Linked DNA regions of Homo sapiens: region 1 is linked to region 2. The links are contacts of gene promoters, found by promoter capture Hi-C in human tissues and cell types (Jung and others, 2019). All regions are on one chromosome and are shown on one strand. Each heading gives the region's core, a stretch centred on a gene start or on the middle of the fragment in contact. The rest is flanking DNA. Distances are from core to core; before and after follow the strand shown.

What was found. Contacts are between HindIII fragments. The study calls those that stand out against the background at their distance.
Region 1: a fragment that was not itself captured here is called in contact with the fragment with the promoter of SLC41A2 in region 2 in 3 of the 25 tissues and cell types used here (adrenal gland, lymphoblastoid cells and thymus).

Annotation. Positions count from the first base shown.
Region 1 is chr12:104,769,424-104,773,584 of GRCh38, forward strand. No RefSeq gene overlaps it. Among named protein-coding and RNA genes, the nearest start is that of MIR3922, 180 kb to the left of the region's middle. The HindIII fragment of the contact is 6,951 bases long and covers 1-4,161 here.
Region 2 is chr12:104,956,543-104,960,555 of GRCh38, forward strand. SLC41A2 (solute carrier family 41 member 2) reads right to left here and starts at 1,748. Exons shown (of 11, transcript NM_001352171.3): 1 at 1,546-1,748. RefSeq lists silencers at 1,137-1,466, 1,657-1,926. The HindIII fragment of the contact is 10,569 bases long and covers 1-3,138 here.

The sequences.
Region 1 (4,161 bases), core at 1,132-3,631, 190 kb before region 2:
CGTGCTTTGGAGAACAATGCCTGTCATTGCTTCAGAACCAAGAGTTGCTCCCGTTTCCCTGCTCCATCAGGAAAGAATAGGCTTTATTCTTCTTCCAGAAATAAACCTACAGCTATAAATTATTAGCCAGATGAGAGTCAATGTACCTTCCTCTTTGAGATGTTGCAAACTCTAAAATTATATTCATGTGATATACCCACGTCTATAGTCTTCCCTTTTGAGCTTACATCTTGGGGTGTTGCCATGAGGTGAATGTTGGAAATTTGGTATCTTGGCACCAAAATCAAGGATTATTCATTATTCATTTAAATGAATTTAAGCTTTCCTTAAAATATTTGTATGTAAAAAAGACCCTTTATTTAAATATATTCCACTGAATATTGAACTCAAAATCATTTTTGTGATCCATTTCTGATTCTTTCCATCGTTTATACATGAATTACATATTTATATGTATGTATCACTTTAGATTATTCTATATACACATTCCTATATATTCTTTGGAGAAATGTTTATTCAAATCATAAATCCTTTATCAGAAATATGTTTTACAAATATTTTCTCTCAGTCTGTGGTTTGCCCTTTTCATTTTCTTAATGTCTTTCAAAGAGCAAACATTTTAAATTTTGATGAAGTCCAATTTATCAATTTTTATTTTACAGCTGGGTTTTTTGTGTCCTGTGTAAGAAATCTTTACCCAACCTAAAGTCTCCAGGATTTTATCCAATGTTTTCTTTTAGAAGTGTCATAATTTTTGCTTTTACATTTACGTTTATGACCATTTAGTTAGTACTGTATATATGAAGTAAGGGTCATAGTTCAGACCTTATAAATATCCAGTTGTTCCATTACCATTTGTTGAAAGAGCTGTACTATTTTTACATTGGTGCCTTTGTCAAAAATCAAGTGATCACATATATGCGAGCTGCTTTCTGGACTCTCTCTGCTGTTCTGTCGATCTATATGCCTGTTCCTATGCCAATATCACACTGCCTTAATTATTATAGCTTTATAGGAGGCCTTGAAGTCAGGTATTATAATTCCCCAAGTATGCTTTTATGTTTTTCTTTATTGCACTGGCTATGACTTCCAATACCAGGTTTAATAAAAGTGGTTAAGAGGAAAGCTTCAGTTTTTTACTATGAAGTATGATTCTAGCTGTAGGTTTTTTGTGGATGCCCTTTATCAGATTAAAGTGGTCAATTTGCTAATATTTTATTTAAATTTTTTCGCCTATGTTCCTAGAAAATATCACCCTATATTTTTCTTGTGATGCTTTTGTCTGGTTTTGATGGGAGGGTAATGCCGGCCTCATAATACAACTTGGGAAATATTCCTTCCTCTTCTATTTTCTGGAGGAATTTGTGTAGAAATTGTATCGTTTTTTTCCTCAAATATCTGGTAGAACTCACTTGCAAAGCTATCTGCTCCTGGAATTTTCACTGTGGGAAGGTTTTTAATTAAAAATTATTTTTATTTAATAGATAAATATTTAATAGATAAATAAAATTATTAATTTTAAGTAAGCTACTTAAGTAATCTAATTTTTCTTGAATGAGCTTTGGTAAAAATACATTTGAAGGAATATATCTGTTTCATCTAAGTTGCTGAATTTATTGGCATAATGTTGTTTATAAGTTTCTCTTATTAACATTTAATGCCTGTTGGATAAGTAATTATATTCTGTTTTTCATTCCCGATATTGGTAGTTGATGTCTTCTCTCTTTTTTCCATTGTCTGGCTGGAAATTTATCAGTTTTATTGATTCTTTCTAAGAACAATCTTTTGGTTTTGTTGATTTTCTCTGCCTTTTTTTGTTTGTTTTTGGTTTCATTGATTTGTGCTCCCATTTTTATTATTTACTTCCTTCTGTTTGCCTTGTGAATAATTTGTTCTTCTTTTTCTAGTTTATGCCAGAACTTTAGATTATTAATTTGAGTCCTTTCTTCTTTACTAATATAAGCACTTAAGGCTAAAATTGTCCTTCTAAGTACTACTTTAGCTGCATCCCATAAATTTTGGCAAATTGTGTTTCCATTTTTATTCAGTTTAAAGTATTTTCTAGTTTTCTTTATAGTTATTTATTTAATTCATAGATTATTAAGTGTGCTGGGAATTTTTTTGATATCTTCATTTTATTTCTACTTAAATTCCATTGTCGTCAGATAACATATTTTGTATGATTTTTGTCCTTTTAACTTCATAGAGACTTGTTTTAAGGCCCAGAATAGGATCTATCTTGGTATATGTTCCCTGTGGACTTTAAAACTATGTTTATTCCGCTATTGTTGGATGGAAGGTTTTATAACTGTCAACTGGATCAAGCTGGTGGATAATGTTCTTCAAGTCTTCCATATCTTATTCATTTTCTGAACATTTATTTATCAATTATTGGAAAAGGGGAGTATTAAAATGTCCTATTATAATTGTGGATTAATCTATTTCTCTTCTCAATTTTTGCTTAATTTTAAAACTTTAAAAATTAGTTGCATACACATTTAAAGTTATGTTTTCTTGATGAATTAACTCCTTTATTATTATGAAATGTCCCTCTTTTTCCCCAGCTGTATTCCTTGTTCTGAAGTCCACTTTGATACTACTATACTAAGCCAGCTTTCTTTTTTCAGTGTTTGCATTATATACCATTTTCTCTCTTTTACTTTTAACCTATCTGTGTATTTATGTTTAAAGTAGCTTTCTTTGTTAACAACCTATATTTGGGTCTTTTAAAATCAAATTAAATTTAATTAAAAAAATTTTTAGAGACAGGGTCTCACTCTGTCTCCCAGGCTGGAATGCATGGTGTGATCATAGCTAACTGCAGCCTCTAACTCCTGGGCTCAAGAGATCATCCTGCCTCAGCCTCCCAAGTAGCCAGACTACAGGTGCACACCCTTTTCCCAAGTAATTTTTTACTTTTTGTAGAGGCGGGATCTTGCAATGTCATCCAGGCTGGTCTTGAACTCCTGGCTCCAAGCAATCCTCCCACCTTGGCCTCCCAAAGTGCTCAGATTACAGGCATGAGCCACCACACTTGGCCAGATATTTTTTAAAAAAAAAATCTAATATGAGAACCTCTTCCTTTTAGTTGGAATATTTAGACTATTTACATTTAATGTAATTATTGATATAGTTAGGTTTAAACCTACTATCTTGTTGTTTTCTATTTCTTATCTTTCTTCCTTTTTCCCTTTTTTTCCTTTACTTTGCTTATATTGGGTATTTTTATTATTCTAGTTTTCCATTTACTTTTGGCTAATTAGCTATTTCTTTGTTGGTTTGTGTTTAGTGGTTGCCTTTGGATTTATAATATGTGTATTTAAACTTATTACAGTCTATCTTTAAAAATTTATGCTATATACACATTTAACACGAGAACCCCACAACAGATTACTTCCATTCCCCTTCTTTTTGCCCTTGTTGTCATATATTTTGTTCTACGTGTTACAAACTATAAAATGTTATCATTTTTGCTTTATCTGTCAATTATCCTTTAAATATGCAAAAAGTGAGAAAGACAATTTAATATCTACCTTCACATTTATCATTTCTGGCCCTTGCTCTTTTGCATAACTCCACACATCTGGTCTCATTTTCTTTCAACCTGAAAAATTTCCTTATTCCTTGTATTATAGGTCTGCTGGCAGCAAATTATCTCATCTTTTGTTTAACTAAAAATTCTTGATCAAATTTGAAAATGTGTGGCCATTACTTGGCCATTACTTCTCTAAATATTCTTTCCTGCCCCTACACTCTTTCTAGGACTCTACTTATATGTTAGACCACTTGATGTTGCTCCATTGATCATGAATGCTTTGTTCATTTTTTAAAGTTTTTGTTTTCTTGGTGTGCTTCATTTTGAATATTTTCTAATTGCTCTTTCTTCAAGTTTACTGATTCTTAATCCTGCGGTTAATGCCATCCCAGGGAAATTTTCATTTCAGATGTTGTATTTTTTATTTCTATAAGTTCCATTTGGATCTTTAAAAGTGTTACATTTCTTTCCTTATAATGATCACATGTCCTTTATATCCTTGAGAATGTGGAAGTGTGTGTGTGTGTGTGTGTGTGTGTAATCTTTTAAAGTCATTATCTGCTAATCCATCATCACTATCATTTTTAGGTCTGCTTATATTGACTAATTTTTCTCCTGATTACTGT
Region 2 (4,013 bases), core at 498-2,997:
GTGGTGTGTGCCTGTAGTCCCAGCTACTTGGGAGGCTGAGGCAGGAGAATCGCTTGAACCCCGGAGGTGGAGGTTGCAGTGAGCCAAGATTGTGCCACTGCACTCCAGCCTGGGTGACAGACTGAGAGTCAGTCTCCAAATAAATAAATAAATAAATAAATAAAAATAAAAAGCCAAGCAACCCAATTAAAATATGGGTAAAAGATATGAACATTTTCTCCAAAGAAAATATATGAATGGCCAATAAGCACATGAAAAGATGCTCAGCATCCCCAATCATTAGAGAAATGCAAATCAAAACCACAAAGAGATACCATTCCACACTCACTACGATGGCTATCATAAAAAATAACCAGTAAAAAAGTAACAAGCCTTGGGGAAGATGTGAAGAAATCGGAACCCTCATACACTGCTTAGTGGGAAAGTAAAATGGTACAGCTGCTTTGCTTGGCAGTTCCTCAAAAAGTGAAACACGGAGCAATTGCCCTCCTAGGTATATACCCAAGAGCACTGAAAACACATGTCCACAAAAACGTGTAAACAAATGTGCATAGCAGCATTACACACAATGGCCAAAAACTGGAAACAACCCAAATGTACATCAACTGATGAATAAACAAATGTGGTACACTGATACAACAATATTAATATGCTATAAAAAGTAAAGTACTGATACATACTACATGAGTGAAACTTGAAAACATTACAGTATGTCTTTCGACGCCAGACACAAAAAGCCACATATTGTACGCTTCCATTTATATGAGATTTCCACAACAGGCAAACCCATATAAACAGAAAGTAGATTAGTGGTGGCTAGTGGGGTGGGGTCAAGGGGAAATGAGGAGTGATTACTAAGAGAGACAGGGTTTCTTTTGGGGATGATGATCTGGATAGTGGTCATATTTGGAAAACTCTGTGAATATATTAAAAGCCACACTTTAGAAGAATGAGTTTTATGGCATGTGATGTATATCTCAATTTAAAAATTGTCACTACAAAAAAAAGATGACATATATACGTAATATACACATCAATGTATATCGGTAACACATAGATATGTGTCATCTCTCTCTGTAAATGAGCATTTGGGCTTTTAAATTTGAGATATGCTCCGTGTATATAAAGAGAAGAATGAAAGAAAAGGGTGACGGGGCACTCGCGGAGCCCTGAACAGGCATCTGGGGTGTGCCCGAGCCAGCCTCGCAGCATCTCCATCCCAGCTCACCTTCAGCCATCACTCATACACCACCCGCCGCCTGTCCCTGCCTTGGGCGCCCGGGACCGCTTGTCCGCGGTGGCCGCGGAACAGCTTCCCTCAGCCCGAGGTGGGGCAGGCGCGGGGGCCTGGGCTCGGGCGCTGCCCGGCGGCCCGGAGAGGCGTCCGCAGGGGGCACGGCTGCTCGGGCGGGGCCGCTCCCTCTGCTCCCCGCGCCCCCGCCGCCGGGTCCCGAGCCCAGGCCTCTCGGCCCCACCTCCCTCCCGCACCTGATGCGCCCGAACGCGGCGCCGCGGCCGAAGCCGAGACTTCCCCTCCATGGTCACCTGTTCCGGAGCGCGGCGGCGGCAGCGGCCGGTGTGAGAAGGGTCCCCGTCTCCTCAGACCAGACCGAGACACCAGGGGCGGGGGATGGAAGGGGCATTCACCTGGTGCCCGGCACCGGTGGTGGCGGGGAGGACAGCGGCTCCCAGCCCACAGCTCCTTCCTGCTCCCGCGCCTCCTCGCGCGGCTGCGGCCCCAAGCTGACAGCCCGGCCGTCGGCGCCCGCGGCCCCCTGACTCCCCGCCGCCCCGCCCCCGCGCGGCAGCCCCGCGCAAGCGCAGCCGCGCCGCCGCCGGGGAAGCCCGGGCCTTGGTGATGTGGCCCGCGGGGCGGCGACCCGGAGCGACAGCACCGCCCCGCCCGGACCCCGGCCGCGCCCTGGCAGACAGCTGTCGGGAACGGGGGCGCTGGATGACGGCAAGGGGGCAGTTTTCTGGGGAGCCTGCCCAGGAGAGAAGGGCTGTGGCCTCCTTCGGCATCCCTCTTCCCCACCAGCCCACGCACGCCCACTTCACCGCCTGCTCCAAGGTCCGAACCCCCGAATCCATGACTCATGATTTCTCTTCTCAGACCAGCGGCCTCTTTTTGGCTGAGGTCATGTTTCTTGCAGACTGGAGTTAAAACCGAACCACGTGTCTTTCGGCCCAGCAGCGCATAGTGTGGGCGGTGCAGGAGCCGAGACGGGCAGGAACCACCGCAGGAGGGGGTGAGGTTTAGGGCAGCCCCATAGCACCCTCCCCGTGCCAGGCAGGTGTAGGCGCCAAGCGCATGGGGCGCTGAAGAGTTGGCTGGGGTGCCAGGCTTTTCAAGTTTCCCCACACTTGCTTTTAAACCTAGATCAAACTGATCCAAAGTCTGCATGTAAATCCGAGAGCTCATTTATTTTATTTACAAAACTATTGAGCATCTACTGTGTATGATTCAGGGAATGAGACACACCCCAGGGATACTCCAGTGAACAAAAGAAAGGTGTTGGTCCGAAGACAGTTATTTTAAAAATTACACAGCTAATGCCATAATGCCAGGATTGGTGGCTCATGCGTGTAACCTCAACACTTCGGGAGGACCAGGCGAGAGGATCGCTTGAGGCCAGGAATTTGAGACCAGCCTGGGCAAACACAGCGAGACCTGGAGTGGCTAGGAGACTGAGGTGGGAGGATCGCCTGAGCCCAGGAGTTCAAGGCTGCAGCGGGCTATGATCGCATCACTGCACTCCAGTCTGGGCCACAAAATGAGACCTTGTCTCTAAAACAACAACTCAAAATTACACAGCTAATGATACTCTTTTCCTCAAATCAAAGCTTCTACCAATTCCAAGCCACACCAGTGATTTAGTAGCAGCTTTTCTGGTGCTGAAGGACACCAGCATACATTTATCCATGTTCTTTTTTTTTTTCCTTATGCTTTGCGATCAGACTTTGAGCTTTAACCTTAACCTTCAGGGTGAAGGGTGCTTCGGTATCACTCTTGGCCATCTGCAGTCATGCTTTTTATAATGACTCATCCTGGTGTTCCTCACCACCTAAAAATGAAAGTATAATTGCAAGGAATATGGAAAAGCAGTGTTTTGACTGCATTTCCAGCTGGTTTTTGTTCTGGTTGTTTTTTGAATTACAGATCATTAGAAAGTAGCTGCTCTTGAAAGTTTGGCAGAAGTTCCACCCAATATGTGTTCCTCCCCTGAGTGTGTAGTCTTTCAAGATTTCTACACAAAGCATATACAGAAGCCAGCCTGTCTTGGTTTTGAAAATTCTTCCACCATTTTTTTCTGAGAGAGCTGGTGGTTTCTACCGTCCTTCAGAGCATTACATGGCATGTGGCAGGCAACCTTCTACTTACATTCTTCATTCAGTACCGCAAAGTAGTGTGTACTTTGGAGATATGTTAAGCTTCAAGTTGGAATCCAAATTTAAATCAAATTTCAGCCCTGAAAATAACTCACATTGGAATCGGGCGAGGAAATGCCCCCTTGTAAAAAACTGGGTCCTAATGGGTGCAGACAACAACAATCCCATTTCTACTTCATCTCCCGTCTGACAGCTGGCAACTTCAAATGTGAAGCAAGTGGCTTGGACTTGAGGCTGTGTGGTGATGCTGTTGTGATTGCTGGAAAAAAGCCTGAGAGTTATGAGAGTGTATAACAAAGGAGCGTGTCTGTGCTAGGGGGTAAGAAAGATCTCCTGGAGGAAGTGACATTTAATCTCAGCCTTGAAGAATAAGGAGGAGTTAGGGCAGGCAACATAGAGAAGGGGGTGGGGTGGGCAGTGCATTTAGCTGTGGAAACTGCAGGTTTGAAGGCCCTTTGGTAGGAAGAGGCTCTGTCTGTGAAGGCTTTGGGAAAAGGCCACTGTGCTTAGACTGAGAGAGCTACCTGGGAGGGAGAGGTGGGCGGGCCCTTGAGGGTCAGGTTAAGGACTTTGGATTTAATCCTAAAGACAAAAGAAGCCAATGAAGAGTTGAAAAGGTCCTA